Regions from separate parts of the Homo sapiens genome. Here region 2 is linked to region 1. Evidence: promoter capture Hi-C in human tissues and cell types (Jung and others, 2019). All regions are on one chromosome and are shown on one strand. The core of a region is centred on a gene start or on the middle of the fragment in contact, and the rest is flanking DNA. Distances in the headings are between cores, read along the strand shown. Region 1 holds the start of CCDC43 (coiled-coil domain containing 43). Region 2 holds the start of DCAKD (dephospho-CoA kinase domain containing).

Region 1 (7,783 bases), core at 2,917-5,416:
GTAGCTGGGACTATAGGCATGCATTACCACACCTGGCTAATTTTTATATTTTTAGTAGAGACAGGGTTTTGCCATGTTGGCTAGACTGGTCTTGAACTCCTGACCTCAGTGATCCACCCACCTTGGCCTCCCTAAGTGCGGGGATTACAGGCGTGAGCCACCGCGCCCAGCCAACCACGCCCAGTTTAAACCACGCCCAGTTTAAACAGGCACCACGCCCAGTTTAAACCAAAAATTTTAAAAATAATTAATACTTAACACTATTAAATCGTATACTTAAAAATAGTTAAGATGGCAAATTGTGTATTTTACCACAAGTAAAGATAAAAATAAATGAATAACTTATGAACAAATTCCCAGAAGCAGAAATGCTGGGTCTTTTCAAACAAACAGTCCTCCAACAAGACCAGATCCATTTACTTTCTGCTCTAACATTTTCCAATGTCTTTTACCCAAGCACAGTTCAATACAGCATATTATCAGACTTTTTTGATCTGAAAAGCGGACGTGGTATTTCACTGCAATCTTAATTTGCGTATTTTATTTTTTGTAAGCTTTCAATTTGTCGCTTATCCATTTATATAATTTTTTCTTTTTTTTTGTTGAGACAGAGTTTTGCCCTTGTTGCCCAGGTTGGAGTACAATGGCGTAATCTCAGCTCACTGTAACCTCCGCCTCCTGGTTTCAAGCAATTCTCCTGCCTCAGCCTCCCAAGTAACTGGGATTACATGCGCCTACCACCATAGCTGGCTAATTTTTTTGTTTTTTTTGTTTTTTTTTGAGATGGAGTCTCACTCTGTTGCCCAGGCTGGAGAGCAGTGGTCAGATCTCGGCTCACTGCAAGCTCTGCCTCCCGGATTCGCGCCATTCTCCTGCTTCAGCCTCCCTAGTAGCTGGGACTATAGGCGCCCGCAACCACACCCAGTTAATTTTTTTTTGTATTTTTAGTAGAGACGGGGTTTCACCTATTATCCAGGATGGTCTCGATCTCCTGACCTCGTGATCTGCCCGCCTCGGCCTCCCAAAGTGCTGGGATTACAGGTGTGAGCCACCGCGCAGGGCCATTTTTTTGTATTTTTTTAGTAGAGATGGGGTTTCACCAGTTGGCCAGGCTGGTCTCGAACTCCCGACCTCAGTTGATCTACCCGCGTTGGCCTTCCAAAGTGCTGGGATTACAGGCGTGAGCCACCGTGCTTGGCCTTATATAATATTTTTTAAAGCATGAGCTATGTTACTTTTGTAGTAAAATAGCCATTGAGGATATTCTTAAAATTTAGGGTCTGGAGAACCTTGATTCAGTTTTTGAGAAGCTTGTTGATGCTTTCAAAAAACCTTATTGCATTATGGCCAGGAGCAGTGTCTCATGCCTGTAATCCCAGCGCTTTGGGATGCCGAAGCAGGTGCATCACCTGAGATCAGCAGTTTGAGACCAGCTTGGCCAACATGGCAAAACCCTATCTCTACTAAAAATAGGAAAAAAATTAGCCGGGTGTGGTGCTGGGTGCCTGTAATCCCAGCTACATGGAAGGGTGAGGCAGGAGAATTGCTTGAACCCAGGAGACGGAGGTTGTAGTGAGCTGAGATCATACCACTGCACTCCAGTCTGGACGACAACCGTGAGACTCCACCTCAAAACAAAAACCAAAAAAACCTTATTGCATAATACCTATATCAATTTCCTGATTTACTATTATACTGTCTTTATGTTTGATGTTACTATTGGGGGAAACTGGGTGAAGGTGTGCAGGACTCTATGTACTATTTTTGAAACTTCTTGTGAGGCTGTATTTCTAAAAAACAAAATTTTGTGATGTTTTTCTGGTTTGGGGGCTCTGCACTGACCAGCTATCATCCTTGAGCCATGATGGCACCCAGGTCTGTGAACTGACAAGCCCTACCTGCAAGACAGCTACTAGATTAGAAAGAATAACTGAGGACTTGAAAAAGAGGCAAGCCTTTGGAGGCTGACTCTGGCCTCTGACTCTGTTAGTGTCACATTCTATCTAACTCAGCGAGCACACAGAAGCCACGCAACTAAAATTCACACTCTGCCATATTTCTTACATTTGTATCTGTGCCATTCATTTAGTGTCCATTCATTTACATAATCCCAATGCCACTAAGGGTAGACCTCTGCAATAAGAGGACCTCTGCAAGGTATACAAACTCCTTTCCTTCTTTTTTTGTTGTTATCCCCTGAATATCTTCTATTTGAATCCTGTAGCTCAAGCCATACATGACTCTCTGGAGGCCCCCTAGCAAGCCTTTGAATTCACAGTTCCCCTGCATCTGGATCTACCCCCTTTTTCCCTCCAGTCCCTTTATGTAAAGAACTCCTACCATTCTTCAAGAAAGTTCAAGCATCATCTCCACTGGGAAGCCTTCCTGGATTTCCTATGAACCTCTCCCCACCTGCTTCCAACTCCACTCCAACAGGTAAAGTTAACTCAATCTTCTAGGCATCCTACTGCAATCTCCGCTAGATAAAGCTCCATTAAAACATTTATATCACTATATTGTCATCATTTGTTTAAACATGTCTGTTCCTAATGGATTAAAAACCCCTGAGGACATATATTTTGTGACATTCATTTTTGTGTTTTCAGTGCCAGCAACAATGCCATACTGAAGGTACTCAGTACATATTTGAGGAAGGAGTTAGCCAGGACCTTGCCAGCTTCCTCTGCACTTCAGCTAAAGCCAACCAAATTCTTGGGTAATTCATTCCAGCCCAGAGCCAGGTGTTTTGACGTCAGCTGAAGCTCTCATAACTCTGCCAAAGAAGAGTTCTTGCCACTGGTTAGGCGCCCTCTAGTTGTGTGACTCTCTCCATATCTGTCTCCTTATCTTTAGTGATTTTGTTTGTTCGTTTGTTTGTTTGTTTTTGAGATGGAGTCTCACTGTCGCTCAGGCTGGAGTGCAGCGGCGCGATCTTGGCTCACTGCAACCTCCGCCTTCCGGGTTCCAGCGATTCTGAGTAGCTGGGATTACAGGCCCGCGCCACCACACCTGGCTTTTGTTGTTGTTGTTGTTTGTTTTGAGACGGAATTTCGCTCTTGTTGCCCAGGCTGGAGTGCAATGGCACGATCTCTGCTCACCGCAACCTCCGCCTCCTGGGTTCAAGCGATTCTCCTGCCTCAGCCTCCCACGTAGCTGGGATTACAGGCATGTCCCACCACGCCCGGCTAATTTTGTATTTTTAGTAGAGACGGGGGTTCTCCATTTTGGTCAGGCTAGTCTCGAACTCCAGACCTCAGGTGAGCTGCCCACTTTGGCCTTCCAAAGTGCTGGGATTACGGGAGTGAGCCACCGTGCCCGGCCTTATTTTTGTATTTTTACTAGAGACGGGGTTTCACCATGTCGGCCAGGCTGGTCTCGAACTCCTGACCTCAGGTGATCCACCCGCCTCGGCTTCCCAAACTGTTGGGATTACAGGCGTGAGACATGGCGCCCGGCCTGTCTCCTTATCTTTAAAATGTGGACAATAAAAGCATCTCCCCACAGGGCTGTAGGGAGGATTACAAGAGATAATGCATGAAAAGCTTTTGGCACAGTGCCTAGCAGAGGGTGGGGTACGCTTCTCAAAGAATAGTCCCGTGCACGCGTTGAATCAATGAGTGGAAGAAATAACTTGAGGTTGCCTGTTTATTTACTGAGTGCCTACCATGGAATCAGGGAAGGTTTTCTGCAACCTTTACTTTGACAGGGAAGGGCTTGTACAGGTGAAGGTGGTAGCCGTCGGTAGCGACGACGAGGGTATTCCAGGCTGTCAGGAGGTTCTTGCCAGACAGCTGTGTGGGAGTGGGCGGCCAGCATCCCCCGAAAGCGCGGGGAAGGCAGCTCGGTCGGGTGGAGGAAGCGATGGCATCCACGCTGAGCTCCAGTCCTGGGTAGTTATTAGCCGCGTGACTTTGGCCAAATTACTGCACCTCTCTCAACTTCCCGAACTGTAGAATGAGTCTGTTAAGAATACTCACATGCCAAGCATCTTGTGAGATCACGCGACCGCACGTATGCGAAGACGCGCTTCATCTAGAAAGCACAAAACTCTCAAGCCGGCCGACACGGCTGCGCTCTTTGCACTTACGGGCCTGGGCTTCCTCTTCAGGCATGCGCGGTGGACCTGCGGCGCGGCCCGTCAGGCACTGCGGTAGGCGCCCTAGGGGCTTGCAGGACCCTGACCCCAAGATGGCGGCGCCCAGCGAAGTGGCCGCGATAGCCCCTGGCGAAGGCGATGGCGGAGGCGGCGGCTTTGGCTCCTGGCTGGACGGACGGTTGGAGGCACTGGGAGTGGACCGAGCCGTTTATGGAGCCTACATCTTGGGTATCCTGCAGGAGGAGGAGGAAGAAGAGAAGCTGGACGCTCTGCAGGGGATCCTCTCTGCTTTCCTGGTGAGTAGCCTGGACACATTCCTTCAGCCTCTGGCCAGCATCTGAGGACCTGTCAGTACTTTGCACCCTCCCTCCCCTACCGGGTATCCCAGAGGCTCAGTGGTCTCACCTGGGAGAGGTATACTCCTCTGATATCTGGGCGGCGGGGGAAGGAGGTTGCTCCCCAACCAGGTGTGGGAAGCCTGAAAGCTGCAGGTACACAGAGAGGAAGGGCTTTCTCGTATTCTTGGGGACAAGGCCCTCTCCGATGCTTGTGAGTGAGCCGAGGAGGGTTCTTCCGAAGGCATTGAAATGTCAGAATGGGAATGTTATCATAAATATCTGACGACCAATTCCATTTCCATCCGTTTACAGTGTTCACTGGGGGTATTAAAATGCTCTTGGGAGGTCTGTGCCTATTACAAGGCAGTTCCCAGGGCTGTCCCATGACAGAAGCCTGCAGGAAGTGCCCTTTTGATTCTTATATGGATGTAGGAGTCCATAAAAGGTAAGCTGGTGGTAGAAGTCTTTTCATGCCCACGCAGAACTGAAGCAAACGTCGTGCTTGATCCATTACAGTATTTACAGTAATCATTGGTGGTGGGAAGGAGGGTATGAGAGAGATCAGAGCTTTAACGAAGAGAGAGAAACTTAGTCCTTAGCCTGTTAGAAGCAAGGTATTCAGAAATGTGTACTTTAAGCTATGTTTACATAGTAAGTCACCCAGATGTCCACTTTTTCAACCTGATCATTTCTGCTGCCTTCATCTTCACTTCCCACACCTCCAACATACACACTTATTAGACTGGTTATTACAGATTAAATTGGTTGTAGGTGCTACCTGTGGCTGTCTAACAAATTGTTTCCTTTTAAATACAAGCTTAAAAATAAAATTTACTTGAATCATCACTAAATGCTGTAGAAGCTAGAGTTGTCTCTGCATTCATGGATTAGAGGAGATCCTGGATACCTGATTGCTACTGTGAGAGCCACCTGTCTGTCCATCAAAGGCTTTATCCTCTGGCATTTATTACAATGGACAGGTTAGAAAAATGGGTTCTTTGTTATTCTCAAAACCAATTTTGAAAGGCTAGTAATAGAATCAAAATGTACCATGAGGTGGGGCACAGTGGCTCATGTTTGTAATCTCACCACTTTGGGAGGCTGAGGTGGGAGGATTGCTTGAGGCCAAGAGTTCCACACCACACTGGGCAACATAGCAAGACCCTGTCTCTACAAAAAAATTTAAAAAATTAGCCAGGTATGGTGGCGCATACCTGTAGTCCCAGCTACTCAGAAGTCTGAAGTGGGAGGATCACTTGAGCCTAGGAGGCTGTGGCTGCAGTGAGCCGTGATTGTGCCACTGCACTCCAGCTTGGGTGACAGAGTGACCCTGTCTCAAAGAAAAAAAAATTAGTATAAATATATATAGATATAAATGTACATATTCATATCTCATTTTTTTAAAAGGGTAGAAGGCAGAAACATTTTCAAATCCAAAAGTGTTTTGTGAAAGCGGAAACAAGTGCTAGGAAAAAATCACTCACATTTGGTGGAAGCAGTTCATAGATTGGGTACATGGTTGAAATATAACACTAGTGCAGCTGTCCCAGATTCTTCTGGCAGTAACCCATTTGAGTTCCAGAGCCTCTTCTGGCAAGATTGGCTTATAAATGGGAAAACTTTAACACAGCCTGTGAGGAAGCTTGGAAGTTCACTGGAAATACAAGACAGTGGAATCAATTCTTTTTTTGGACCACAACATTACAGATTATAGGGAGAAAGAGTAGGAGGCAAGCAATTTAAGGTAGTTTTTATTTACAGCTGGGAAGTTTCTAAACACTCCATGAAGCTGTTGAAATAACTTTGAGACTTCTTGGTACCAGCTTCTTGATCAGTCCATCATTATTTGGAGCTGTTTCTGTTGATAAAGGTAGACATTAGTTTGCCTTTTTTTTTTTTTAAGAGAGTCTCGCTCTGTTATAGTAATGTGATCATAACTCACTGTAGCCTTGAACGACTGGACTCAAGCAATCCCCTCTCATCAGCCTCCCAAGTAGCTAGGACTACAGGCACCTGCCATCACATATCATGCCTGGCTAACTTTTTTTTTTATGTTTTATGTTTTATTTTTTGAGACAAAGTCTCACTCTGTCACCCAGGCTGGAGTGCAGTAGCAAAATCTCGGCTCACTGTAACCTCTGCCTCCTGGGTTCAGGTGATTCTCAGCCTCCCGAGTAGCTGGGATTACAGGCATATGCCACCATGCCTGGCTAATTTTTATATTTTTAGTAGAGATGGGGTTTCACCATGTTGACCAGGCTGGTCTCAAACTCCTGACCTCAAGTGATCCACCCATCTCAGTCTCTCAAAGTGCTGGGGCTATAGGCGTGAGCCACCACACCCAGCCATGCCTGGCTAATTAAAAAAAAAAAATTTTTTTTTGTAGAGACAGGGTTTTGCCATGTTGCTCAGGGTGGTCTTATGCTCCTGGGCTCAAGACATCCTCCTGCCTTGGCCTCCCAAAGTGCTGAGATTACAGATGTGAGCCTCTGTGCCTGACTTGGGCTAGGATTTAATATGAGGAATTTAGAAGTTTGTTAGCAATAATCTGAGGTAAAATTCAAGAACAGTGGCATATAGTTAGGAGCAAATAACAGTAAACAAAAACTTTTATCATCCTTCTCTTCAATAGTACTTGCATTGGTTGATTGATTTATCAAATTTTTATTGATGGATTACCGTATGCCAGGCACTACCCTAAGTGCTTGGGGCACTTCAAAGAATAAAACAGATAGAAATTCCTGCCCTCATGCGGTTACATTCTAGCATGGAAAAGCATCACTAGTAAATTATATAGTATGTTACAAAGTGATAAGTGCCAGGGAAAAAGGAGCATTGTAAGTAGGATAAACTTTCCTCTTAGTGCCTTGAACATAGCAGGCACCTTCTGTATAAATAAATGAAGGAATGGATGATTGAACTACATTGATTTGGATGAGGAGACTGAGGAAATAAACCACTTTGTCCTCTTAAGAGTTCCCGTTCTCTTTTGCCTCTCTGCTGCTCCTTTTCCTGCCATTCTTTTTCTTTTGGTGGGGGATTTTAAAAGAGCTGTACCACTTTCTCATCCTTTTTTCTTTTTCTGTTTCTTTGCTTTTCTTGCTGGTGGGGGTTGGGGGAAACCCATGAACTATTGAAACTCTGGACCAAGGAAGTTCTGTGTGTCTAGCATGTAGCTAAAAGGATGCAAGGTAGAGGAAGAAATCCTTTGCTGGGTACAAAATAAGGATATACATAATAAGTCTGTGTTCTGACTCTCCACTTTTCTTTGGGAGATGGTTAAGAACATGGGCTCGGCTGGGCGCGGTGGCTAACGCCTGTAATCCCAGCACTTTGGGAGGCCAAGGCA
Region 2 (7,783 bases), core at 1,743-4,242, 360 kb before region 1:
TTAAAACTAGGAGAGATACTGCCTAAGAAAGAACTTTCTAACTGCCAAGACTGGACTTGAAAAAATAACAACTGTCAGCCAGGTGTGGTGGCTCACACCTGTAATCCCAGCACTTTGGGAGGCTGAGGCAGGCAGATCGCCTGAGGTTGGGAGTTCGAGACCAGCATGGCCAGCATGGTGAAACCCCATCTCTACTAAAAATGTAAAAATTAGCCTGGCATGGTGGCAGGCACCTGTAATCCCAGCTACTAGGGAAGCTGAGGCAGGAGAATCACTTGAACCCGGGAGGCGGAGGTTGCAGTGAGCTGAGATCACGCCATTGTACTCCAGCCTAGGCAACAGAGCCAGACTCTGTCTCAAAAAAAAAAATAAATAAAACTGTCTTGAGTGGCAGTGAGTTCCCCAACATGGGACATGTACATGTATACATGGCAGAGATAATGTGGAAGAGATTCAAATACTGGCAGGGTGTTTGTACCAAATGGCCCTTTTGGACACAAGATGGAATCCTTTTTATTGGGTGATGGCAGTAGGTCTCCTTGACTGTTGAAGTCAGGAAGAAAGCTTTCAGGGACTCAGGTGATCTGAGAAAGATGTTAAATTACTTAATTCCTCAATATACTGAATCCCTACTGTGCAGGGCACTGGGTATTGTAGTAGTAGATAGGCAAGATTCCTACCTTAAAGGAAGTAGAGAATAGAGATACAGTTTAAGGAAAGGGAAGGGAGACAGGGTAGGTGTTAATTAAAAACTTCCTGCTGGTGAGGCACCGTGGCTCATGCCTATAATCCCAGCACTTTGGGAGGCCGAGGTGGGTGGATCACCTGAGGTCAGGAGTTTGAGACCAGCCTGGCTAACATGCCAAACCCCATCTCTACTAGAAATACAAAAATTAGCCAGATGTGCTGGGCATGGTGGCTGACGCCTGTAATCCTAGCACTTTGGGAGGCCGAGGTGGGTGGATCACCTAGGTCAGGATTTCCAGACCAGCCCGGCCAACGTGGTGAAACCCCATCTCTACTAAAAATACAAAATTAGCCGAGTGTGGTGGTACATGCCTGTAATCCTAGCTACTTGGGAGGCTGAGGCAGGAGAATCGCTTGAACCCGGGAGGTAGAGGTTGCAGTGAGCCGAGATCATGCCACTGCACTCCAGCCTGGGCAACAAGAGCAAAACTCCATCTCAAAAGCAAAACAAATTAGCTGGATGTGGTGGCGCACACCTCTAGTCCCAGCTACTCGGGAAGCTGTGGCAGGAGAATCGCTTGAACCTGGGAGGCAGAGGCTGCAGTGAGCCAAGATCCTGCCACTGCACCCCAGCCTGGGCAATAGAGCGAAACTCTGTCTCAACAAACAAACAAACAAACCAAACAAAAAAAAAACAAAAACAACTTCCTGCTATATGTGAGGCATAACTAGATAACTAGTTTTTTTTTTTTTTTTTTTTTTTTTTTAACTGGAGACAGAGTCTTGCTGTAGTCTCCCAGGCTGGAGTGCAGTGACCGGATCTTGGGCTCACTGCAACCTCCACCTCCCGGGTTCAAGCAATCCTCCTGCCTCAGCCTCCCGTGTAGCTGGGATTACAGGCATTCACCACCACGCCCGGCTAATTTTGTATTTTTAGTAGAGACGGGATTTTGCCATGTTGGCCAGGCTGGTCTCAAACTCCTGACCTCAGGTGATCCACCCGCCTTGGCCTCCCAAAGTGCTGGGATTACAGGCGTGAGCCACAGCGCCCGGCCTAGATGCTTTATTTTTTTTGAGGCAAGGTCTCGTTTTGTTGCCCAGGCTGGAGTGCAGTGGTACCATCATGGCTCTCTGCAGCCTTGACCTCCTGGGCTCAAGCCATCCTCCTGCCTCAGCCTCCCGAGTAAATGAGACCACACTGTCACCATGCCTGGCTAGTTTGTTTTTTGTTTTTTTTTTTTGTAGAGATCGGGGGTTAGTCTCACTCTTGTTTAGGCTGGTCTCGAACTCCTGGGCTCAAGTGATCCTCCCAAAGTGCTGAGATTACAGGTGTGAGCCACCGTGCCCGGCTTTTATGTATTCTTTCAACAACGCTGCACGGCTGCGATTATCCCCACTTTGAGAGGAGACAGGATGAGAGGCTGAGTGGCTTGCTAGGCTTGTATGGACAGGATGCGGGCTCTGCAATCACATGACTTTGTATGAGAGGGCAAATGGATTAACCGCTAAACATAGTTTCCTGTTGTGTAAAATGGGGATGATGATAGTATCCACCCTGCGGACTGTGCGGGCTGAGATAATCCCACAAAGTGCTCTTAGGACCTGGCAGGTGGAAAGTGCTCATGATCACCTCTGCCAAGGCTGCACAAGTAGCGAGTGGCCGAGCTTTATATCCGAAGTTAGGACCCTGCAGTTTTGCCCCTCTCCTCTCTCTCCCTCTCCTTCCCGGCTCCGGGGAAAGGAAAATTTATGGCTCCGGGTCGGGGGTTGCGGGGGACCTCTGTGCCGTGCTCCGGGGCCGAGCTCTCCCCGCCGGCCTCTCCCGCGTCCGTCCGGCCGCCCTCCCGCCCAACCTCTCCCGCCCAACCTCTCCCGCGTCCGCCCGCCCGCCCAACCTCTCCCGCGTCCGCCCGCCCGCCCAACCTCTCCCGCGTCCGCCCGCCCGCCCAACCTCTCCCGCGTCCGCCCGCCCGCCCAACCTCTCCCGCGTCCGCCCGCCCGCCCAACCTCTCCCGCGTCCGCCCGCCCGCCCAACCTCTCCCGCGTCCGCCCGCCCGCCCAACCTCTCCCGGCCCCGCCCGCCCGCCCGCCCAACCTCTCCCGGCCCCGCCCGCCCGCCCGCCCAACCTCTCCCGGCCCCGCCCGCCCGCCCGCCCAACCTCTCCCGGCCCCGCCCGCCCGCCCGCCCAACCTCTCCCGGCCCCGCCCGCCCACCCAACCTCTCCCGGCCCCGCCCGTCCAACCTCTCCCGGCCCCGCCTGCTGGCCGGACGTCCGGTCTGCAGGCGCGCGCTCCCGAGGTCCCGCCTCGCCCGCTGAGCCGGCCTGTAAGCGCTGCGGAGATTGGGCTAGAGGCGGAGGCCTGGGCCACGGCGGAGGCGCTGGGTACGTAGCGCGCCACGCGGGCCGGTGAGAGCCAGCCGGGCGCCGGGGAGGGGGCGGGCCCTGGCCGCGGCTGCTACGCGGGGCTGCCACCGCCCCGGGCGACCCAATTTCGCGGCCTAGTGGGGCGTACGGGCCTCTTTTGAAAGCCTGAGTTACGATGTATTGAGCGCGTCGTATGCGGCCAGCACTAAGGCAAGTGCTTTTATATCCACGGCCCATTGTCTTGACAGCAACCCTACCAAGCAACGTGTTATTTCCTCTGTTTTACGGCTGAGGACGCGCAGGAAGGTTTACAGCTAGAAAGGGCTGGAGATTGTGGATTCAAACTCAGGATCAGACCAAAGCCACTGCCCTTTAGAACTTTGCGGGCCGATTGATTCTTGAATCTAGCTTCTGCCACTTCAGTTGTGTGACCTTGGGGTATCTTTCCGATCCCAAGTTTGCTCATCTGAAAAATGGGAATAAAGCTACAGTATCTGTCCCATAGGGTGGGTATAAAGTGCTTTACTGTTGAGCTGAGTGATCATCTCCGATTTTCAGACCCCTCTCCTCCGCTTCCCTCTCCCCTGGGAGGCCAGTTAAGGTTTTAGTGAAGGCCCCCGGGACTGGGGCGGCGTGGATCTCACGCCCACCAACTAGTGAGGGAGGCCATCCGGCCACCCGTCTCTTCCTTCCCCAGCTCCGCAAAGGAGGCGTTGGCATTTCAGGTGTTTGCTTACAGAGTTTTCAAAGATTTTTCACTCTCCCTTAGTTGTGGGAAAATGATTCAACCTACCCAAGTGAACTTTGACATTAAGTCTCAATTCTAACGGTGAGGAAATGGAAGCCTTTGAATATGTTTTATGTCTTAAACGTGTTTGTTTTTGCAGGAGGGAGAGTGCTCATTTTACCTGAATAAATCAAGATTGAGTTGGTGTGGCACAGTGCTGGCATAGGCCTGGGGAAAGGGGTGAAATGCTAGAGATCTGGTAGATGGATAGAAAGTGGACAGACGGGTTCGGGTGGTTTTTGTCTCAGCAGGGCCCTAAATTCCCACCAAATCCTCCTCTGTCTGTCTTCACCAAGGTCTGAATCTGTCCCCTTGGTAAATAACGTTTAAATGGTCTCCGAGCCCCTCTTGGTGCCTGTACCTTAAGGAGAGAAGAAGAGGGCTGATAGCTGAAGGCAGGCAAGCCACGAACTTAGCTTTGTTTTGAAAATTACCCTCTGGGCCGGGCACGGTGGCTCACGCCTGTAATCCCAGCGCTTTGGTAGGTTGAGGAGGGTGGATCACCCGAGGTTAGGAGTTCGAGACCAGCCTGGTCAACATGGTGAAACCCCCGTGTCAACTAAAAATGCAAAAAAATTAGCCGGACATGGTGGTGCATGCCTGTAGTCCCAGCTACTCGGGAGGCTGAGGCAGAAAAATCGCTTGAACCCGGGAGGCTGAGGTTGCAGTGAGCCGAGATCGTGCCACTGCACTCCAGCCTGGGCAAGAGAGTGAGACTCCTTCTCAAAAGAAAGAAAGAAAGAAAAAATTACCTGCTGGGAGGCCGAGCGCGGTGGCTCACGCCTGGTAATCCCAGTATTTTGGGAGGCTGAGGCAGGCAGATCACCTGAGGTCAGGAGTTTGAGACCAGCCTGGCCAACATGGTGAAACTCCATCTCTACTAAAAATACAAAAAAATTAGCTGGGTGTGGTGGCGGGTGCCTGCAATCCCAGCTACTCAGGAGGTCGAGGTAGGAGAATCACTTGAACTCAGGAAGCAGAGGTTGCAGTGAGCTGAGATCGTGCCACTGCACTCCAGCCTGGGTGACAAGAGCAAGACTCTGTTTCAAAAAAAAAAAAAAAAAAAAAAAGGAAAAGAAAAAGAAAATTACCTGCTGGCACAGTTTTAGATTGATAGCTTTAGATTGAAACTTTCACATTTTTATTTTGAAGATTACAGAGGATAAAAGTTCTGGTTAATTGTGAATGTTGATATTTTAAAATAAAGCTGTTAAAATCCTCATTTAAACCTGCAGTGAAGTCTAAATATACACCATTTGATTTGATTTCCCTCATCTTTTGAAAAAAAAAAAAAGAACCACTTTTTATTTAACCATCGAAATTTCAAATCGTTCTTTTTTTCCTTTATTTTTTCCGAGATGGGATCTTGCTCTGTTGCTCAAGCTGGAGTGCAGTGGCAGTCACTGGTTACTGCACCCTTGACCTGCTGAGCTCAATCCTCCCACCTTAGCCACCAAAGTAACTAAGAGTACGGGTGTCTGTCACCACATATGGCTGATTTTTCTTTTTATTTTTAGTAGAGACGAGGTCTTGCTATGTTGCCCCGGCTGACTCCTGGTCTCAAGTGATCCTTGCATCTCAGCCTCCAAAAGTGCTGGGATTAGAGGTGTAAGCCACCATGCTTGGCCCTTTTTCCTTCTTGAACTCATATTTCCACTTTGTTTCCTCACAGAAGTTTTTTCTAATGTAATAGTTTTTGTTTTTTTGAGACAGGGTCTCTGTCACCCAGGCTGTAGTGCAGTGGCGGGATCACAGCTCACTGCAGCCTTGACCTCTTGGGCTCAAGCAATACTCCCACCTTAGCTTCCCCAGTAGCTGGGACTGCAGGCTTTCGCCACCATGCTCAGCCAATTTTTTTTTTCCAAATGAAAGCAAGATTATTAGGAAAATAATGGAATAAAGAATGGCTACACCATAGGCAGAACAGCCCTTGTGCTGCTGGTTGGCTATTTTTATGGTTCTTTCTTTCTTTTTGAGACAGAGTCTGTCTCACTCTGTCACCCAGGCTGGAGTGCAGTGGCGCAGTCTTGGCTCACTGCAGCCTCTACCTCCTAGGTTCAAATGCTTCTCAAGCCTCAGCCTCCTGAGTAGCTGGGATTACAGGTGCATGCCACCACGCCTGGCTAATTTTTGTTTTGTTTTTCTTTGAGATGGAGTCTCGCTCTGTCACCCAGGCTGGAGTGCAGTGGCACGATCTCGGCTTACTGCAACGTCTGCCTCCCGGTTTCAAGCGATTCTTCTGCCTCAGCCTCCTGAGTAGCTGGGACTATGGGCATGTACCACCATGCCTGGCTATTTTTGTATTTTTAGTAGAGACGGGGTTTCACCATATTGGCCAGGCAGGTCTCAAACTCCTGACCTCGTGATCCGCCCTCGGCCTCCCAAAGTGCTGGGATTACAGGCATGAGCCAACATGCCTGGCCTAATTTTTGTATTATTAGTAGAGATGGGCTTTTGCCATATTGGCCAGGCAGGCTGGTCTCAAACTCCTGGCCTCAAGTGATCTGCCTCCCAGAGTGCTGGGATTCCAGCTAATTTTTTTTTTTTTCCATTTTTTTGTAGAGACAGAGTCTCACTATGTTGCCCAGGCTGGTCTTGAACTCCTGGCCTCAAGTGATCCTCCTGCCTTGACTTCCCAAAGTGCTGGGATTATATGCATGAGATACTGTGCCTGACCATGTAATAATACATTTTATGCCTGAAAGCCTTTGGTTTATCATATTTCTCTGCAACAAAAATACATACAAAATTAAAACTTTTTTAAAATTGTGTTATCATGAGTATTAAATGTTTCTTTTGGATTGAGTTGTCACAATTATAAAATACACAATTGATAAAAACAATGTTAACAAAGTTTTATTTGAGTATTTCTCTTAATAAGCTAAGTGGGCCGGGTGTGGTGGCTTATGCTTGTAGTCTCAACATTTTGGGAGGCCAAAGCAGGCAGATTACTTGAGCTCAGGTGTTTGAGACTAGCCAGGGGCCAGACGCGGTGGCTCACGCCTGTAAACCCAGCACTTTGGGAGGCCAAGGTGGGCGGATCACAAGGTCACAAGTTCAAGACCAGCCTGACCAACATGCCGAAACCCCGTCTGTACTAAAGATACAAAAATTAGCTGGGTGTGGTGGCGTGTGCCTGTAATCCCAGCTACTGGGGAGGCTGAGGCAGGAGAATCATTTGAACCGGGAGCCGGAGGTTGCAGTGAGCCAAGATCGCGCCACTGCATTCCAGCCTGGGCAACAGGGTGAGACTCCATCTCAAAAAAAAAAAAAAAAAAAGAGACTAGCCAGGGCAACCCAGCAAAACCTCATCTCTACAAAAAATTTTTAAAAATTAGCCGGGCGTGTTGGTGCATGCCTGTAGTCCCAGCTACTTGGGAGGCTGAAGTGGCAGGATCACCTGAGCCTAGGAGGGTTGAAACTTCACTGAGCTGTGATCACACCACTGCATTCCAGCCTAGACAATGGAGTAAGACTCTGCCTCGAAAAAAATAAGCTGGGTGGAGCTTTTTAAACCTCATGTATCTATCCATGTTTATTTGTATATTTACTAGAGTGAGCAGAGTGCTTTTTTTTTTCTTTGGCTGTAACCATTGAAAAAGTTTCTTCATGTAAATTAAATACACAGGAGTTGAAGGCTTTTTTTTTTTTTCAGCAATATCACTCAGTTCTTTGAACACCTTCTGAATTATGGGCCGAAAAATCACATTGAATTATTAATAATCTGTCAGTCCACAGTTCTTTTAGGTCCTCCTTTAACTTTCTTGAAGGCCAAGGTTTAGAAACCACCTGACTCATGCAAGGATTTGTTCCTTAGTCACTGTAGGCAGTCACTTTCTTAGCATGAATACTGACCTTTTGAATTGCCCTTTCTGGTGCCCAGGGGATTTTCACCCTGTGGGACCGTGCACCTCACCTCAGTATGATTTAGCATGGGTGGATG

What was found. The method cuts DNA at HindIII sites, captures the fragments that hold promoters and counts their contacts. A contact is called where the count stands out against the background at its distance.
Region 2: a contact is called between the fragment with the promoter of DCAKD here and the fragment with the promoter of CCDC43 in region 1, in 1 of the 25 tissues and cell types used here (dorsolateral prefrontal cortex).

Annotation. Positions count from the first base shown.
Region 1 is chr17:44,686,159-44,693,941 of GRCh38, reverse strand. CCDC43 (coiled-coil domain containing 43) reads left to right here and starts at 4,166. Exons shown (of 5, transcript NM_144609.3): 1 at 4,166-4,392. The coding sequence starts at 4,189. LOC105371792 (a long non-coding RNA gene) reads right to left here. Exons shown (of 4, transcript XR_007065769.1): 2 at 5,919-6,088; 3 at 5,649-5,764; 4 at 4,929-5,001. It overlaps LOC124904010 (a long non-coding RNA gene), which reads right to left and starts at 4,161. Exons shown (of 2, transcript XR_007065770.1): 1 at 4,088-4,161; 2 at 3,632-3,947. RefSeq lists enhancers at 4,036-4,175, 3,844-4,433. The HindIII fragment of the contact is 3,238 bases long and covers 2,427-5,664 here.
Region 2 is chr17:45,046,841-45,054,623 of GRCh38, reverse strand. DCAKD (dephospho-CoA kinase domain containing) reads left to right here and starts at 2,992. Exons shown (of 5, transcript NM_001288655.2): 1 at 2,992-3,263. RefSeq lists a silencer at 2,852-3,351 and enhancers at 6,437-6,967, 6,968-7,500. The HindIII fragment of the contact is 12,750 bases long and covers 1-7,783 here.